Linked DNA regions of Homo sapiens: region 2 is linked to region 1. The links are contacts of gene promoters, found by promoter capture Hi-C in blood cells and fetal thymus (Javierre and others, 2016). All regions are on one chromosome and are shown on one strand. The core of a region is centred on a gene start or on the middle of the fragment in contact, and the rest is flanking DNA. Distances in the headings are between cores, read along the strand shown. Region 1 holds the start of ATXN2L (ataxin 2 like). Region 2 holds the start of STX4 (syntaxin 4).

What was found. The method cuts DNA at HindIII sites, captures the fragments that hold promoters and counts their contacts. A CHiCAGO score of 5 or more calls a contact.
Region 2: the fragment with the promoter of STX4 here is called in contact with the fragment with the promoter of ATXN2L in region 1 in 1 of 17 cell types (monocytes); the score reaches 5.2 in monocytes.

What each region holds. Positions count from the first base shown.
Region 1 is chr16:28,820,416-28,825,454 of GRCh38, forward strand. It overlaps ATXN2L (ataxin 2 like), which reads left to right and starts at 2,584. Exons shown (of 22, transcript NM_007245.4): 1 at 2,584-3,143; 2 at 4,951-4,987. The coding sequence starts at 2,845. LOC124903672 (a long non-coding RNA gene) reads right to left here and starts at 3,627. Exons shown (of 2, transcript XR_007065042.1): 1 at 3,479-3,627. RefSeq lists enhancers at 1,863-2,599, 2,111-2,320 and a silencer at 2,641-3,790. The HindIII fragment of the contact is 7,883 bases long and covers 1-5,039 here.
Region 2 is chr16:31,031,669-31,037,272 of GRCh38, forward strand. It overlaps STX4 (syntaxin 4), which reads left to right and starts at 1,890. Exons shown (of 11, transcript NM_004604.5): 1 at 1,890-2,167; 2 at 2,345-2,446; 3 at 2,558-2,657; 4 at 2,794-2,868; 5 at 3,302-3,372. The coding sequence starts at 2,138. RefSeq lists enhancers at 1,214-1,725, 2,238-2,748. The HindIII fragment of the contact is 4,602 bases long and covers 461-5,062 here.

The DNA.
Region 1 (5,039 bases), core at 1,334-3,833:
CCATGCAAATTAGCTGCCACTAGCAAGGGCAAGGCAAGCTATGGAGAAAGAAGTTTCATGGGGCTAAAACTCAGAATTTGAGTGTGGAGCAGGATGGGGTAGATGGAAGGGGGTTAGAGTGCTCAGTGCTCACAATCTGTCAATGAGGGTAGAGAGGTGGCATGGCATCAGGTGGTCCAGGTAATGCCAGGAAAAAGCTGGACTGTGTTTGTTAGGGAACCCAGGAGACATGATGACCTTTAAAACACCATTTGGGCTGGGCGTGGTGGCTCATGCCTGTAATCCCAGCACTTTCGGAGGTCGAGGCGGGTGGATCACCTGAGGTCGGGAGTTCAAGATCAGCCTGACCAACATGGAGAAACCCCGTCTCCACTAAAAATACAAAATTAGCCGGGTGTGGTGGTGCATGACTGTAATCCCAGGTACTCAAGAGGCTGAGGCAGGAGAAACGCTTGAACCCGGGAGGCGGAGGTTGTGGTGAGCCGAGATCGCGCCATTGCACTCCAGCCTGGGCAATAAGAACAAAACTCCATCTCAAAAACAAACAAAAAAACATCATTTGGATCCACTCACCTTACAGATATTTCATTGAGTGCCTGCAGTGTGCTAGAGTACTGCAGAGCAAGAAATAAGTCAAGATCCTAACCCTTAGGGAGCTGACATTAGCAGGAAGACAGAATTAAAGGAGCTGTTAGAATACAGTGGGATAAATTGCTCGGCGAGCACACAGGAGGGGAAACTAGCACATCTGAAGGCAGGAGCGAGGCAGGGCGAAGGACTATTACCCAAAAAGTAAGGCAGTGTTGTAGCTAGGTGTGCATGTGTTTGGTGCAGGGGCTGGGAAGAGTTCCAATGCTAACATTTAGAGCGAAGAGATTGAGACATTGAGAGTTTCGCTGGGATTAAGACCACATGGACTTAACAGCTCCACTCCATTCTCCACGTTGCAAAGAGTAAACCTTTAAAAATGCAAATCTGACCTCTTTTCACTTGTTTTTTTGTTTGTTTTGGGGGGAAGGAGTCTTGCTCTGTCACCCAGGCTGGAGTGCAGTGGTGCGATCTGGGCTCACGGCAACCTCCGCCTCCTTGGTTCAAGTGATTCTCCTGCCTCAGCCTCCTGAGTAGCTGGGATTACAGGCATGCACCACCACGCCTAGCTAATTTTTGCATTTTTAGTAGAGACAGGGTTTCACCATGTTGGCCAGGCTGATCTCAAACTCCTGACCTCAAACCTCCCAAAGTACTGGGATTACAGACCATGCCCAGCCTCTTTTCACTTTCTTAAATAAGCTCCCCACTGCTTTGAGGATAATGTCCGTGTCTCTTACAAGACTTGGGAGCCTTTAAAACCTGATCCCAGATTAGCTACCTCTTCCCCCCTTTAATTTTATGCTTAGGACAAGCTGAGTTTTTCTTAGTTTGTCATATCCTATTTCCCTGCCTAGAAACCCATCTCCCCCTGCCCTCTTATCAGTTTTTTTTTATAATTTAAATTTTTTTTTTTTTGTAGAGACAAAGTCTCACTTTGTTGCCTAGGCTGGTCTCAAACTCCTGGCCTTAAACGATCCTTCTGCCTCGGACTCCCAAAATGTTAGGATTACAGGTATGAGCCACTGCGCCCGGCCCTCCTGTCCCTTATCTGGGTCTCCCAAAACTGGATTAAGATTAGGTGTCACTCCCATTTGCTCTTGTAGTCCTCTGTGCTTCACCTACTAGATCTCGTCAAATTCTCTGAATTCACCACTAGCATGAACTCCTCCAGAGCAGGAAGCAGTTTAATTATCCTTGTGTCCAAAACAACTAACTGAATACTCCAATGCCCAACTCATTTTGAATGAATGAAGCTGCCTTCATTGCAGGGTCGGGTGGAGGATTTTGAACTCGGAACTTTGGCCTTCAGTCTTTGTTATTACAGTTTAAAGATTCATTCTCGGGCATGGAGGAACAATTTAGGTCAAAATCACAAAAATCTGAAATAATTTAGGACGAGGCGTAAATTTATCTGCAAAGATCAACACGCTCAAACGAATCACTAATGCTCATCAGTCTTTTACTTAAAGCAAACAAGGTGGAGGGTAGCTCCTTGCGAAACCTACCACCTGCCTAAAAGCGCAGTGGCTCGGGTGGTCCAGTCCCGGAGACTTTCTTGGCACTTAAGGCTCTGCCCACGGGCCGCCAAGTGGCGGAAGAGCCTCACGCACGACGTGCCGCCTCACACTCCCGCGGAGGCATCGCGACGCAGCGACGGCGTGGGCGGAGAGGCCGGCCCTTCCTCTGGCGCCTTCGGCTCCTCCCCCTGCGCCTCACACGCTCATTGTGAAGCGACAGCGGCCGCCGGCTTCTAAGGCGGTTTGAGACCTTAAGACCCTAAATCCTTGGCGCGCGTGAGCGCCCGCGCCGCTCCTTACCCACTCCCAGGGCTAGGGGTGCGAGGTTCACCGACTTGATTCTCTCCCACTTTCCCGCCGGGAGCTAACCGCGCCGGTGTGCGCGGCACCTCGCGCCACTGCTCGCTCCTGGCCCCCCCCCCCCCCCCCCCCCCCCGGGAGCTCCCACCCGCGCGCTCCTCCCTCTCCGCTCCCCGGCGACGCGCACGCGCGCCAGCCCGGCTCGCGCCCTCTCGCTTTCCTCCAGCCGCGAGACCCCCTCCCCTTCCGCCTCGCGGCGCTTCCTCGCGCCGCGGTCTTCTCTCTCCACCCCCGACACCGCGGGGCTCCCCCCGCCCGCCCACGGCGGGCCCCGGCTGCCCGATCCCCCTCGCTTCCCGCGCTCTCCAGCGGGGCCCCAGCCCCGGCCCCCTCTCTCCCTCCCTTCTCTCTAATTCCCCTTCCGGACGCTGCCATCATGTTGAAGCCTCAGCCGCTACAACAGCCCTCCCAGCCCCAGCAGCCGCCCCCCACGCAACAGGCCGTGGCCCGTCGGCCCCCCGGGGGCACCAGCCCTCCCAACGGCGGCCTCCCGGGGCCGCTGGCCACCTCTGCGGCTCCTCCCGGGCCTCCAGCGGCCGCCTCCCCCTGCCTGGGGCCTGTGGCCGCTGCCGGGAGCGGGCTCCGCCGGGGAGCCGAAGGCATCTTGGCGCCGCAGCCGCCGCCGCCGCAGCAACACCAGGAGAGGCCGGGGGCAGCCGCCATCGGCAGCGCCAGGTGAGAAGGGTGGGCTCCGGGCGAGGGAGCCGCGGCCACCCAGAGGCTGTGGCTCGGTTCCGGTGGGGCGGACCCCGACCCGGCACCGTCAGGGGCACCGGCTGGGTGGGGAGTCCCCGTGAAGCTGGGGGAGGGCCCCCTCAGGTCCGAACAGGTCGGACGGAAAGGGTCCCCGGGCGGCCACCGGAGCACTGAGGGGCCGCGCTCGGCTCTCGGGGCCTAGTCAGGGCTCGCAGCCCCGGCCTTCAGGGGAGGCGGGGCGCATCCCGCCGGCGCCGTCGGAACGGGGAGTTGGGGGGGGGCAAGGAGCTGATCGGGGTCCCCGGTTCCATTACCACGAAGGGTCTCGCGGTCCCCGGCTTCAGCCAATGGGGAGTCTGCTGCGGGAAGGGGTCCCCGGCCGTAGCCAATGGAGGGGGGCGCGCGGCCCACAGTTTGGCCAATGGGGAGGGAGGGACTTGGGAGCGGGTTGCTGCCTCCCCCTTCCCGGTCTGGCCAGTAGGAGGGGAGCGAGGTGGGCGGGGGGACGGAAGGAGGGATGACTGGGAGGACTGCGGGCCGGGAGCCTCTGGCGCGCGCGCCCCCTTCCCGTACGTGCGCGTGGATGCTCGGTCTCATGACCCGGGCATTCGCGCGCCCCGGGAACACCTAGGGCAGGGACTAGTTCGTGGAGGGGCTCGTCTGGTGGCAGTGCATGAGTAGTGGAGGCCCTGCTCAGTTTTTCCTGTGCGAGTGTGTGTGTGTTAATGGAATTAAGAGTGGCAGCACACGCAGGCGCAGTGGGCTCTGATCGCTGGAGGTGGGGGTTCGGAAAGTCCCGTGGGTTTTAGTGCGCAGGCGCAGACCGGGCGAGGCCTCCCGGTGGATGGCTTTTGCGGCTGCGCTGTCCCCCAGCCCCGCCAGCGGCCCCCTCTTCGCCCTCAACCGCCGGTTACATCAGCCAGCGACGAGCAGGGTTACCTGGCGATTGGTGATCCCCGCAGAGTGGGTAACGGGCTGAATGAGTCATGAGGTCGAGGGGATGGGGTGTGGAGGGGATACCCCTCCTCCCACAGTTTTGAGGCGTCAGGCTGCTGAAAATGATTGTCTTTTCTGTTTGGGAGGTAATGTACCTGAGCTAGGTAGTTCCAAAGCTGCACTCCTGGAGCTTTTGCCCTCACAGCTGGCGTGGCTTTTTGGTTAATACTGTAGCATTGATCTGTTGGTAGCCTGCAGCCCTAGCCCCTTTCTCGTTGGTTCTTAGAGCAATTGACAACCATTGTTGATTGAGATCTTTTTGCTGGCATTTGGAGGAAATGTGTTTGCTGGCTTATTAATGTCTATTTTTTTCTTCCTCTACAAGGTGACAGTTTGAAAATCTTATTTATTGGCCGGGCGCAGTGGCTCACGCCTGTAATGCCAGCACTTTAGGAGGCAAAGGTGGGAGGATCCCTTGAGCCCAAGGAGATCGATACCAGCCTGGGCAACACAGATGGGAAATCCCATCTCTACTAAAAATTAAAAAAAAAAAAAGCCAGGAGTGGTGGTTCGTACCTATAGTCTCAGCCACTCGGGAGGCTGAGGCAGGAAGATCACTTGAGCCTTGGAGGTTGAGGCTACAGTGAACTGAGATCACGCCACTGCACCCCAGCCTGGGCAACAGAGGGAGACCCTGTCTCAAAAAAAATAGAAAAATCTTACTGATTAACAATTTTGTAGTCTAAATCAGCATCATCAGGTGGTATATACTTCTAGGATTTAACATTAATTTCATAGTGGTCTAAGAGGGCTTGAACAGACTTAAGTAATTTCTTGTTTTCTTTTATAGGGGACAGAGCACAGGAAAGGGACCCCCACAGTCACCTGTGAGTGTCTTCTCCCACCCTGTTTAAGATACATAGACCTAAAAGATGCATA
Region 2 (5,604 bases), core at 640-3,139, 2.2 Mb after region 1:
GTAGCTGGGATTACAGGCACCTGCCATCATGCCTGGCTAATTTTTGTATGTTTGTAGAGACAGGGTTTCGCCATGTTGGCCAGGCTGGTCTCCAACTCCTGGCCTCAGGTGATCTGCCTGCCTCAGCCTCCCAAAGTGCTGGGATTACAGGCATGAGCCACCACACCCTGCCTGAGCTGGGTTTTAACAGGAAGAGGAGAAGAGCCAAAACTCCTCACATAGAATCACACAGCACTTGACAGTTTCCAACCTCATCATCACTGAAGTTTAGAGCAGCCGATACCCATAAAGATGATCTCCCCATCCCCCTACAGTTACCCACTGTGCAGAGGGAGATCCACACTTAGAGACAGGAAGCGATTTCCAGAAGTCCATAGCAACTCAGTCCCAGGAATCTAGGTTTCCTGACCAGGGCATAGCAGAAAGGGTCCATTCCTTTCCTTGCTTGTACCTTCACAGAAGCTTCCTGGACAGAGCCCTGGGGTCCAGGAGACCTGTTATTCATTCCCGGCTATGCTGAGACTTGCTGAGTGACCTTGGGGACTCCTTCTAGAGAATATAAGTTCCACGAGTGCAGGAATTTTTGTCTATTAGTCCTTGATGTATCTCCAGCCCTAGAACAGTGTTTGGCCCATACTATGTGCCCAAAAAATATCCATTAAATGACTGAATGTTGCTGTGCATGGTGGTGCATGCCTGTAATCCCAGCACTTTGGGAAGCTGAGGCAGAAGGATTGCTTAAGCCCAGGAGTTAGAGACCAGCTTGGACAACATAGTGAGACCGCATCTCGTAAAAATTTTTAAAAATAAAAAATGAGTGAATATCTAGATAGCCAGGATTAGAGAAGTGTCACAGTCAGAAAGCCTGAAGCCTAAAGAAGACCAAGGAACCAGGGGCTTTATCCTCAGATACATGAAAGCCTGAAATTCTGTCCACAAGTATTTATAGAGGGCCCGTAATGTTCTTGGTACTGGGCTAGGAACTCCCCAGATTCAGTTAAGAACAAAGTCATTACCTGGCCTCAGATGCAAGGCAGGGGCTGGGGGGTGTGAGTGGCAGGGAGGCAGCGTGATCAATACAAACACTTTTCTTAGCCTGAGCTGCCCTGACATGGTCTGACGGCTCACAAGGTGGTGAGTGCAGCCGGGCTGCAGTGTTCAAGGAGGGCGCCGGCTGGCCGCCCACCTGTCAGAGGCTGCGCCAGAAGGATGCGGAAGAAGAGATTTCTGCCTTGGCTGAGGTCACTTCCCACCCCCAGATTCCCTGCCCACACAACCCTGCAATTTTCTGACGCTGACGACTCGGATCCTATTATTTCCCGATTTTCAAGGTCCCATGATGCTGACAGCCCCAAATGCTAAGTCGTCAGTCCGCCCACGCCCTGGACCCGAAAGCAATAAAGGCGAGGTCAGCAAGGGTCCTACCACCCACTGCCTCGAAAGGCCTCTGGGGGTGGTCGGCGCGCCCCTCCCCACCTCGCGGGGGCCGTGTGGGCGTCGCTCGGTCGTTGGGGTGCCGGGGACGTCGTGATGAGAACGGCGTCCCAGAGACGGCGGTGACAGAGCCGGGACACGTGACAGTCACAGGGTCACATTCTGCGGTCCACGAGTTTGGGACCGGGCTGGTCACGTGACGCGGTGGGGGCACCATGGGGTGATGTGAGATGCGGGTGTCTCGGATTACGTACAAATGACGTATTCCTACCCCTTTTGGCAACCAGATTTCCGTTGGAAGATGCAACGGTTCCGGTGACGGTAGCAAGTTCTCGCGTCCAGGCATCTCCGCTTCCGCTCGGGGCGCAACAACTTCCGACTCCACCTTCCCAGCCTCGGGCAAGGAAGAGACGCGACCATGTGCGCATGCCCCGAATTTATCACGGAGGGGCGGGGCTGAGGCTGCGGGAGCTGGAGCGGGGAAGAAAAGGGAATTCCAACCTGTGGAACCTTGGGGGGTCCCCGGGGTCGGCGCCTTCCCATTGACTGTGGGCGGTGCAAGGGACGGAGCCTCTGGCGGCTCGTGGGGGTGTTGGGGTCCGCAGGGGGAGGGAGGGGAGTGTCAGAGTGTGAGCGGGGTACGGGAATTCCAAATTTGAGGGCCTCCCGGCTCTGGCGCCGGGGAGGGAGAGCTCAGGCCGCCATGCGGGACAGGACCCACGAGCTGAGACAGGTGAGACGCCAGGGCAGCGGGGATGGGGACGGGCGGACGAACTGGAACGCAGGACTTCTGGTCTTCGGGATAGGGAGGGGTGGCTGATGGCCAGGAAGGAAAGTCCCGGAAGCCTGTGGGTCCTGCGGGGTAAGAGCCGCAGCGAAACGGTGGTGCCAATGACTCCGGGCCTGGCAGGGGGATGACAGCTCGGACGAAGAGGACAAGGAGCGGGTCGCGCTGGTGGTGCACCCGGGCACGGCACGGCTGGGGAGCCCGGACGAGGAGTTCTTCCACAAGGTAAGGGGCTGGGGTCTCCGCCTGGATTCGCGAGGGTGTAGGAGGACCCGAGGAGTAGCGTGGTCTGGAGTACCCCATATCTCTTTCAGCCCTCTCGGTCACCCTCCCCAGGTCCGGACAATTCGGCAGACTATTGTCAAACTGGGGAATAAAGTCCAGGAGTTGGAGAAACAGCAGGTCACCATCCTGGCCACGCCCCTTCCCGAGGAGAGTGAGTGAAACCCCGGCTGCAGGGCGCATGCTCCGCCCCAGGGATTGTGGGGGTTGTAGTTCCACGCAGGTGGTGGCCAGAGTGGTTTGTTGAGGTGGGGGCTGCTGTTTGGGAGTCTTGGCCTTCTCTTATTCAGGCATGAAGCAGGAGCTGCAGAACCTGCGCGATGAGATCAAACAGCTGGGGAGGGAGATCCGCCTGCAGCTGAAGGGTGAGCTCCTGGGACCTCAGACAGATCCTTCCCTCTGATCCTGCCCTGTTGTTGGTATATCTGGGGAGTGTGTGGCCCAGAGAAGCCAGTGATATATCCAGGTCACACAGCAGGCCTGGGTCTAGCATCTGTCTCCTGGCCTCCAGGCCATTGTACTCTCCACAGCACAAGTCCGCCTCTCAGGTTCTTTTATTTACAATGAAACCATTTACTTACACAGTTATCGCTGCCCACTGGGCATTCTTTGGGCAGGGAGATGGAGTTTTGTTAGGTGGCCTCTGCATACCTATGGGAACTCAGTGATGTAATGCAAAGAAAAATAAACTTACTTTCTCCTCTTAGAGGCTCAGCCTTAGTCATTTTATGATAAATTATATTTCCCTAAAAATCCTATGGAGACAAGTACCCCCAATACCCCTGTGTCTTCCCACAGCCATAGAGCCCCAGAAGGAGGAAGCTGATGAGAACTATAACTCCGTCAACACAAGAATGAGAAAAACCCAGGTGGGTTTTTTTTCTCAGAAATGAGGACATTTCAGCAAATGTTTCATGAAGTATTAGATGACAGGTGTATGAAGGAAGGGCCTGCAGAGATCATGGAGTCCAATTGGATGACTTTTCCAAATGGGGAAACTGAGCTCAGAGAGAGAAAGAACTTGCTCAAGGTCAGGAAGCCAGGTCTCCTGATGCTCAGTCCGGTTATAACACCCTGCTTTATTTTCTTCCATTCAATAGGAAGTTACTGTGACCCCAGACAAGACCTAGTCTTGGCTGTGGGACACATGTTTTCTTTTCTTTTTTTGCCTCAGCCTCCTGAATAGCTGGGATTACAGGCGGACACCCCCATGCCCAGCTAATTTTTGTAGTTTTAGTAGAGACTGGGCTTCACCATGTTGGCCAGGCTGGTTTCGAACTCCTGACCTCAGGTGACCCTCCTGCCTCGGCCTCCCAAAGTGCTGAATTACAGGCGTGAGCCACCATGCCCAGCTGGGACACATGTTTTCTGGGAGTCAAGATGAGGAGTTAGGGTTCAATAGGGGATAAAGACATTACTCACGTGGGACCTGGTGGCTAACGGCGCTGCCCAGGGAAGGAGAGTGAGAAGTCATAAATGACTGGCAGGTTTCCTATCTATGTGACAGGGACATCCTTAGTCCCACAGGTGGAATTCAAGAAGTCAGGAAGAGGAACTTCCTTGGGGCAACACTGAAGAGGAACTCCCCTGGTGTGATATCTTATTTTTTTAATTATTATTATTTTTTTGAGATGGAGTCTCACTCTGTCCCTCAGGCTGGAGTACAGTGGCACAATCTTGGCTCACTGCAACCTCCACCTCCTTCAAGCGATTCTCCTGCCTCAGCCTCACGAGTAGCTGGGATTACAGGTGTGCACCACCACACCTGGCTAATTTTTTATATTTTTGGTAGAAATGAGGTTTCACCTTGTTGGCCAGGCTGGTCTCGAACTCCTGATCTCAACTGATCCACCTGCTTTGGCCTCGCAAAGTGCTATGATTATAGGCATGAGCCACCGCGCGCGGCCCCTGGGGTGATATCTTAGTAAGGAGATTTGCAGTGATCTGACTGGCCCTCTCTGGGTCCCCAGTGAGGAGGATACCAGGAGGTCAGGGTTGGAGTAGTTGGGCCCAGGGCTCAGCAGGGACCCCAGATTGAAGATGGAGCAGCTTGGGCATCTTGGAAGGGTGAAGCTGGAACCAGGAAAGCAGATGTATCTCTGGAAAAGGAACTCCAAGGAATGAGCATATTTAAGGCCTCAGAAGAAGGGGCAAGGCAGAGCAGATGCCCCAGAACCAGTGTTTCTGGGGAAGCCTGTGGTGGTGATTGGCATGAGTGGTTGAGGGTCCATGTGGGCCTGTTGCACCTGTTTCGCCCAGGCAACATGTTCATCTCTAGGCGTAGGAGCTGTGGTGTAGGCAGCGAGGTTGGCATTCAGCAAGCATTCAGCAGTTACATATTGGGTGCCTACTGTGTGCCAGACCTTTTTGGAACTGTTTAGGATACAGCAGTGAACCAGTGATCCCTGTCCTCATGGAACTTCCCTTCTGGTGTAGACAATCACCATAATAAATAAGTGAATTATTTAGAACATAATAAGCATTAAGGAAAAAAGAGCAGGGGAAGAGGGACTAAGCATGCTGGAGGAGGTAGAGTTGCAGTTGAAAGCAGGTGGAGGAAGCTTCATTCAGAAGGTAACATCTGAACAAGAGACTTAAAGGTGTTTGCTGGGAATGAGCATTCTAGGTAGAAGGAAAAGTGAATGCAAAGGCTTAAGCTGAGAGTGTGCTTTGTCTAGGGAGGGGTAAGGAGACCAGTGTGGATGGGCAGAGGAAGGGAACAGTAAGAGGAAGTAAGATCAGAGAGGTCATGGGAGAAGGAGAGATCATAGAGGGCTAGCCAGGCACCGTGGCTCACGCCTGTAATCCCAGCACTTTGGAGGCTGAGGTGGGAGGATTGGTTGAGCCCAGGAGTTTGAGACCAGCCTGGGCAATATAGTGAGACCCCCCCCCCTTTTTTTTTTTTCCTTTGAGACAGGGTCTCACTCTGTTGCCCAGGCTGGAGTACAGTGGTGCCATCTCTGCTCACTGCAACCTCCGCCTCCTGGGTTCAAGCCATTCTCTTGCTTCAGCCTCCCAAGTAGCTGGGACTACAGGCGCCCACCACTGCACCAAGCTAATTTCTGTACTTTTAGTAGAGATGGGGTTTCACCACGTTGGCC